2 separate regions of the Homo sapiens genome follow, and region 1 is linked to region 2. Evidence: promoter capture Hi-C in 16 types of primary human blood cells and fetal thymus (Javierre and others, 2016). All regions are on one chromosome and are shown on one strand. Each heading gives the region's core, a stretch centred on a gene start or on the middle of the fragment in contact. The rest is flanking DNA. Distances are from core to core; before and after follow the strand shown. Region 1 has its middle 140 kb from the start of MIR4316. Region 2 holds the start of LINC01973 (long intergenic non-protein coding RNA 1973).

The links. Contacts are between HindIII fragments. The CHiCAGO score rates a contact against its expected background, and 5 or more counts as called.
Region 1: a contact is called between a fragment that was not itself captured here and the fragment with the promoter of LINC01973 in region 2, in 1 of 17 cell types (megakaryocytes). The highest score is 8.3, in megakaryocytes.

Annotation. Positions count from the first base shown.
Region 1 is chr17:77,536,834-77,540,662 of GRCh38, forward strand. No RefSeq gene overlaps it. Among named protein-coding and RNA genes, the nearest start is that of MIR4316, 140 kb to the left of the region's middle. The HindIII fragment of the contact is 3,244 bases long and covers 811-3,829 here.
Region 2 is chr17:77,882,439-77,886,858 of GRCh38, forward strand. It overlaps LINC01973 (long intergenic non-protein coding RNA 1973), which reads right to left and starts at 1,649. Exons shown (of 2, transcript NR_028337.1): 1 at 1,484-1,649; 2 at 1-1,100. RefSeq lists an enhancer at 127-486. The HindIII fragment of the contact is 12,286 bases long and covers 1-4,420 here.

The DNA.
Region 1 (3,829 bases), core at 1,183-3,682, 340 kb before region 2:
TTATTATTATTATTATTTTTTCTTGGGATGGAGTCTTGCTCTGTCACCCAGGCTGGAGTGCAGTGGCACAATCTCAGCTCATTGCAACCTCTGCCTTCTGGGTTCAAGCAATTCTCCCTCAGCCTCCCGAGTAGCTGGGACTACAGGCATGAGCCACCATGCCTGGCTAATTTTTTTTTGTATTTTTAGTAGAGATGGGCTTTCACCATGTTGGCCAGGCTGGTCTCAAACTCCTGACCACAAGTGATCCACCTGCCTCAGCCTCCCAGAGTGCTAGGATTACAGGCATGAGCCACTGTGCCCGGCCTCATCACTTTAAAATAGGAATAATAGCCACCATACAAGGGTATTGGGAACGATTAAAAGTGTTAGTACTACAGGAATAATTCTAGGACCTAACCTCATACAGCTGCAGGAGCACTGAATGAGATAATCCATGAGGTTAGGTCCTAGCATTATTCCTGTTTTACAGATGGGGAAGTTGAGGTTTATTTCAAGTAAGTGCCCAAGGTCACATAGCTAGGAAGTGGTAGAACTAGGATTCGAGCCCCAGCCATTGGACAGCGGATCCCATCCCAGATCCTATATTGCCCTCCAAAAAGTCAAGCACCCCTGGGTCAGTGGAAGTTGCAATCTGGGTCATACAGAGTCTGGAGGCCAGTCTCCAATTTCTAGGCTCTTAGAGCCCTCATTTGACCTTGAGCTCTAACAAAGTGCTCACAAACATGTGCCAGTGACTTGCCACAATGAAGGACAGTTGTGTGGGTCTATGGTGGGGTGATGCGTTGCTTCTTACTGAATGTGAAATAAAGCTTAGGAACACTAGATCTGTGTGCTTCAGGAGTGGTGGGGATTGCCCTGGTTGAGTGACTGGAGCATTAAGTGAGATGGGATCTTTGGTGTCATCCTATGATGATGGTGACAGTGGCAGTGATGATGACGACAATCACTTTCTTCCTCCTCCTCTTCCTCTTCTTCTTCTGCTGCTCCTCCTCCTCCTCCTCCTTCTTCTCCTTCTTTTTTTTTTTGAGAACAAGTCTCTCTCTGTCACCCAGGCCGGAGTGCAGTGGCACAATGTCGGCTCACTGCAACCTCCACCTACCGGGTTCAAGCGATTCTTCCGCCTCAGCCTCCTGAGTAGCTGGGACTACAGGCGTCCGCCACCACGCCCAGCTAATCTTTGTATTTTTAGTAGAGACGGGTTTCACCATGTTGGCCAGGCTGGTCTCGAACTCCTGACCTCAGGTGATCCACCCGCCTCAGCCTTCCAAAGTGCTGGGATTACAGGTGTGAGCCACTGCGCCCGGCCGGCAATCACTTTCATGCAGCATGCCCTTTGGGTGCCTACCGTGTGTCGGGTCCTGATGCTGCCCTTGAGGAGCTGACAGTCGGGGAGAAAGGACCAGGAATGTGCTGTCTTACCCCATCACAAAACAAGAGAGAGAATAATGGGTGTCACAAGAGAGGTGCCAGCAGCAGGTGATGGGAGGTTGTCACAATGATAATGAGCTTTAGGTTCAGTGCAGACTTGGCTGGTGGGGCTGGCAAAACCACAGAGATTCAGAGCAGCTGGGGAGAGGCAGTGTACATTAATCTGAACGAATATTAATGTAAGATCTTAATAAAATTACATTTGTGTCTATTTATCTGGCTGTATGAGTTTCCCTAAATTTGGATGGGCATGTTTCAGATGGTTTGGCTTAAGACAGATGTTTTCCTTTTATATAATTCCTTTGTATCTGAGGTCATACTCTGTGAGATTTTGATCTTCAAAATTGGTCCAGACTTATTTTATGTCTCAGCATATGGACTATCTTGGTGAGGGCTCCACGTGCCTTTGTAAAGAACATGTATTCTGTAATCACGGGGTGTAGTGGACCTTAAATATCAATTAGGTCACAATAGTTGTTAGAATGCTCAATGTCCTTACTGATTTTTTGATTTTTTTTGTTTACTGACTCTGTCAGTTGCTGAAAGAAAGGTATTAAAATCTCCAACTGTAATTTTTGGATTTGTCTATTTCTCCTTTTAATTCTGACAGGTTTTGCTTTATTTATTTTGAAATTGTTATTAGATGCATATACATTTAAGATTGTTAGGATTTCCCAATAAACATATCCTTTCGTCATTATGCAGTCTCCCTCTATCTCTTTGGCAATACTCTTTGTCTTGAGCCTATTACAGTAACATAGCCACACCTGTTTTTTGCACTTATTGTTTGCCTGTCATACTTTTTTTTATCCTTTTATTTTTAGTCTGTCTGTGTCTTTATATTTAAAATATATCTCGGCCAGGCACGGTGGCTCACGCCTGTAATCCCAGCACTTTGGGAGGCCAAAGTGGGCAGATCATGAGGTCAGGAGATCGAGACCATCCTGGCTAACACGGTGAAACCTTGTCTCTACTGAAAATACAAAAAATTAGCCAGGCATGGTGGCGGGTGCCTGTATTCCCAGCTACTTGGGAGGCTGAGGCAGGAGAATGGCATGAACCCCAGAGGCAGAGCTTGCAGTGAGCCGAGATTGCGCCACTGCACTCCAGCCTGGGCGACAGAGCGAGACTCCGTCTCAAAAAACAAAACAAAACAAAAAATAAAATGTATCTCTTGGAGATGACACATAGCTGGATCTTGCAGTGTTATTCAGCCAGATTATCTCTGCCTTTTAAGTGGGATGTTCAGTGCATTTCTGTTAAGCGTGATTATAGATGTAGCTGGATTTAGATCTGCCATTATGACATTTGTTCTCTTTTTGTCCCTTCTGTTTTTTTTGTTTTGTTTTGTTTCCCTGTTTCTCTTTTCCTGACTTCTTTTAGGTTAATCATATTTTTTGGTATCCCCATTTTAATTAGTTTATTGGCATTTTAGCTGTACTTTTGCATTTTTAATAGCGGCTAACTTAGGGATTATAATATGTGATACTGTGATATAATAAACAATATATATTTGGACTTTGTTCCTGGTAGAAGAGCTTCTAAAACTTTTAGAGTTTCCTGAATGATAGGGGTGAGAGTCTTGTTAGCCTTAATAAGCCCCTTTCAACCATACCTGAGTTTCTGCTTAGGAGGTGAATCTTGGTGGGCCCCTCCTAGGTAGCAAGACAGGGTCTTGCCCTGTCCACCAAGCTGGAGTGCCGTGGTACAGTCTTGGCTCACTGCAGCCTCAACCTCCCAGGCTCAAGCAATTCTCCCGCCTCAGCCTCCAGAGTAGCTGGGACCACAGGTACATGCCACCATGCCCGGCTAATTTTAAAAAATATTTTTGTAGAGATGGGGGTCTGACTATGTTGCCCATGCTGGTCTTGAACTCCTGCCTCAAATGATCCTCCTGCCTTGGCCTCTCAAAGTGTTGGGATTACGAGCCCCCACACCCAGCCTCAAAGGTGTTTAAAGAACATCTACTTTGTGCTCAGTTTCCTCACTCCTCCATGGAAAGCCTGCAGTGGCTCTCCTTTGCCCTCAGGATACAGCCTGACTCCTTAATCTGGCTTGAAGGCTCATCCTTACCTGCAGGGCCAGGGCGGCTCCTCTCTTGCCCCTTCTGTTGTGTATTTTGCGCTCCAGTTTCTCCGAAGCACCAGGCTGGCTTTGCCATGAGCCATGTCCAATGGCTCCTTCCACCCGGACCCCTGTCCCCACTGCCATCAGCTGACTTTCCCTGTGGCACTCTGCTGACCTTTATTCACATCCTCAACACACCTGCCACCTTCTAGGTGTGGCACTTCCTGCTCCTCCAGATGGGCTTAAGTGGGCACAGCCAGAGCTCCCATGCCTCATCCTGGCAGTGACAACGTGTGGCACCTAAGGGAAGCCCTGACCCCAGTCCTGCCAC
Region 2 (4,420 bases), core at 399-2,898:
GAGGAGGGAAGGAAGAGCAGAAAAATACCTATGGTAAAAGCCAGCACTGCCCAGCAGACATGTCCAATGGAGAGCACCAAGAGGCAGAAACAGCCTCTCTTTGTTCCTGTCTCAGTAGCGGGCATAGTAGCAGTACAATGACTTGTGCTGCCTGCCTGGCAGATCACACAGGTCACAGATGCCTCCTCGTCACAGGATGTGGTCGCTGCACCCTGTCCTAACTCCAGTCCTTTCCCTCACCTTCACCAGCTAACCCCTTCCCTCCAAACCCCCTCCCCTGATTGCTGTCAAGGTCAGCAGGCCCCGCCCCATCCATGAGCGAGCCAAGGGTAGTATCTGCTCAATGCCGTCACTCCGTGTGGGCCAGCTTCTCCTCGCCCAGGAACAAGGGGATTTCCTGACTGTCTCTTTAGGCAGGGTGACGTAAGCTGTTTTGCTAGTGTAGAGCCAAAGAGCCTTCCAGGCCTTCATTTATCTAGATGTGGAGTCCTTTGGGAATGAGCATAGCAGGCTTGTTCCTGCCCAGCATCTTGGAAGATCTCGGACTAGTGCTCCCTGCAGATGATTGGGACCTAAGAAACAGAGCCCTGCAGAAGGACTGGCAAGACCACATGTCCCGGGGTGGCCAGTGTTTCCAGCAGTGACACTTGGGATTGAAACCAACCTTTGCAGAGCGAGAGACCCCACAGTACCAGCTGTGCCACTGACTGGGAAGTGCCCAGCCTTGGCCCTAGAGTGGGAAAATGGCCTGGACATGAAATGTGTGGGGACCTGACACCTGTGCTGGCCCCTGCAGCAGAGGCAGAGGCCCAGGCAGGCGGGGACCTGCTTTTCCCAGGGCTCTCCAGGGAGTCCCTGCACAGCCCTCAAGAGCCTGCCCTGCGTTATCATCCTCAAGGTCAAGAAACTTCCTTGGGGGAGTCTCCAGAGACAGGCAGCCTGGCCATGCCCTGGCGGACCCACCCACTCTACTCCAGGACCTCCGGATTTGGTCTGGGAGTCTCGGCACAGGGGAGTCTGCCATCGAACCAGCCACCTGCATCAGAGCCGGGTCCACCTCCTCCGTCCCGCTGTGGCTCTTTGAGCCTCAGTTTCTTCATCTGTAAGGTGGGAGGTGAGGATGACCAATTCAGTGTCTGGTGAAGACAAAATTTATCCCCTTGTCCAGGGCTGGCCTGGAGCAGACCCTCCCCTTCCTCCTCATCTCGGCCCCAGGACAAGCATGGCTTCCCTCCCTAGCCTTCCTCCCTTGGAGCTCCAGGCACTGAGGACTCCTGGCAGATCTCATTCATCTCTCTCTCTCTCCCTCTCTCCCTCTCTCTCTCTCCCCGACCCCCCCCCCCCCGCCAGAAAGCCACGTAGATATCCCTCTCTCCTGGAAAACTTTCCTGCCCCCAAGCCCCGGTGGGGTGCCTCTCCTACGGCCTTGCATGTATCCCAAACTTTCCCTACCTTCCCATCAATCGTGGTGAGCTGGAATTACCTGATAATCTACCTGCCTCTCTCTTGGACTACAGTCCCCTTGAGAGTGAGACTGGGTCCAGTAGACTGTTGTCTGCCCAGTGCCCAGCACAGGGTAGATGTCCATGAAATATACATGGACCAGTGACCGACTGAGATTGAGACTTGACTGGAAGCATCTTCCAAATGGCTGCTGGGAGAGCAGCCCATCCGGCACCCCAGCTCATGCCCCATCCCCCACTCCTCCAGCTCCTCTCCTCCCAAGTCCCTGCCGTCACAGCCAAGCTCGCGCTCCAAGGCAGCTCTGCCATCATCTGATGCAGACTCGTCAGCTGTTGCCATGGAGACCAGCCAGCAGTGAGCTCTGTGCCCTCCTGCTGCAGGGGCCGAGCAGAGCATGGGGGCACCCTGAAGCGTGCAGAGAGAACCCATCAAGGAGGAGGCGGGGGGAACGCGTGGCTCTGCATCCAGGCAAACCTGGAGTTGGGCCCCATCTGCCCCTACTCTCCTTCCTACACCTGTGACACCTCAGGCAAGTTGCTTCATCTCCCTGAGCCTCCCGTGAAATGCAGAAGATCCCAGCCACCCACTGTTATTGAAGGATGGGATCGACCCATTAGGGCATGGAGCTGTCTCTGTGTCATTTTGGTGTGCCAACCCCTGCCTTGGCTTTCTGGGGGCTGTTTTGAGTGTTCTCTCCCCTTGAACTTTGTGTCCAACTCTCCCCACCTCAACTCAGATGAGGCTGAAGGAAGGAGAGATTCCATTCCTACAATAGCACAAAAAGATTTTCTGTGACATTTGAAAACAAGAAGAAGCCTACAGGTTTGTTAACCAAATTTTGAACTTGGTCTGGCTCTGAGGGCTACTAATGTGGGGGCCACATTGGTTGCTTCCTGCAGTGAGCTAAGGGCTATGGGCAACTCTGCTCATGAAGAGCTTAAGGTGGCATCTCACTTGCAGGACAGCCTCCAGGTCTCACTGGAGTCAGGGAAAGTGATGGTTGTCCTATCTCCTTGTTGCTTTAAATGGTAGCTATCTCTGAAGATGGCTGAATGTCCCTGTGCCCACTGGGGACTTTGGGAACAGAAACATGCCAAGATGCTACAACCGGCCCTGGGCACAAAGCCACCTCTCCAGCTTTCCATGCCCAGCATTAGTCCTGGCATGGAGCTGAACACCTGTGTCTGAGGCAGGCCTAGGCCCTGATGCAAAATGTACCACCCACCTCCTTCTGCCAAATGTCAACTCGACCCAGCTGCAAGGCAGAGAAAACTTGGCAGTGTTCCCAAAGGGGACAGGAGATTGTCTCTTTTGTTAAATGAATGGATGGATGGATGGAGGATGGATGGATAGATAGATAGATGGGTGGATGGGTGAAAGGGTGGGTGGATAGGTGGTTGGATGGATGGGTGGATGATTGGATGGATGGGTGGATGGATGGGTGGGTGGGTGGGTGGTGAATGGGTGGGTGGGTAGATAACTGGATGGGTGGATGGGTGGTTGAATCGGTGGATGACTAGGTGAAAGAATGGATGAATGGATGGGTGGGTGGATGAATGGATGGGTGGGTGGGTAGGTGGATGGATGGATGGGTGAGTGGGTGGATGGATGGATGGGCGGGTGGGTGGATGGATAGGTGGGTGGGTGGATGATTGGAGACAGGAAAGAAAGAGAGAGAGAGAGAGAGAAAGGGAGGGAGGGAGGGAAGGAGGGAGGGAGGGAGGAAAGAAAGAAGGGAAGGAAGGAAGGAAGGAAGGAAGGAAGGAAGGAAGGAAGGAAGGAAGGAGAGAGACAGAAAGAGAGAGAGAAAGAAAAGAAAGAGAGAGAGAAGGAAGGGAGGAAGGAAGGAAGGGAGGGAGGGAGGGAGAGAGGAAGGAAGGAAAGAAGGAAGGAAGGAGAGAGAAAGAGAGAGAGAGAAAGAAAAAGAAAGAAAGAAAGACACAAAGAGAGAGAGAAGGAAGGGAGAAAGGAAAGAAGGAAGGAAGGAAGACAGACAAAGTGAGGAAGATTGCACCAGGATTGCCTCAGATGGGTCTTGCTATGAATAAAATTCAATAATACCAAGAAGAGCTTTACAAAAAGAGAGAGAGAGATAAGGTCAAAGAGACTTTTATGTGCTTCATGAATGAAGAACACTAAGGAGAAACGTTCCAGAAAATTTAGAGGAAAAAAAAAGTGGCTGAACATAAATTTTTGGTGAGGATAATAAAAATAAATAATGCCATAAACTCTTAGAAAACCTGGTGGTTTTCCTTCAAGGGCTTCAGTTAACTCCAGAGTGAGCTGTGAGCTGTGTCCAATTCCGTCATTTCACGGAGCAGGACACTGAGCCACGGGCCATTGAGACTTGCGTGTAATGCGGAGCTGGCGAAACACAACAGTGAGGTGTTTATTGGAGAATTTTGAATATGACTAAGTCCTTCTTTACAGAGCTTAGCATTTTCATCGTCTGTTTTAGGATGAGAGAACAGCATCAGCAGCATTCGGCACGATTGACAGGTTGTGTTTGCTCTTTGCTTATACCTCCTAAAAAGTGGACTGTCTTGGAAGTTTTATTGTAGTTCCCCTCGAAGCAGCCGCAGGTGCTCACTGGCTCACTGACAGCGAGGAGGTGATGCAATGGGCGCAGTCATTCCTCACTGCCATCGGCGTGTGCAGCTTGGGGAAGCACCACAGCACCGGGCGTGGCTCAGTTGACCAGCTGAAGGTTCCAGATCATGGAGGCAGAGAGGAGAAGCTGGCGACAGAGGGCAAGGCGGGATCTGTGGAGGCTCTTCCTCTGCCACTGTGGAACCCTGAGCCAGCCCCCTGCCTCGGGCCTGTCTATATTCCCACAGAGATGTGGAGAGCTGTTATGTGTAGCTAGATGGGTTCTAACGTGTCTCCCAGGGCTGGTATTTGGAAGAAATAATAAAGAGGAAAAAGACATTGCTGATGGATCCCAGTGGATCATGCC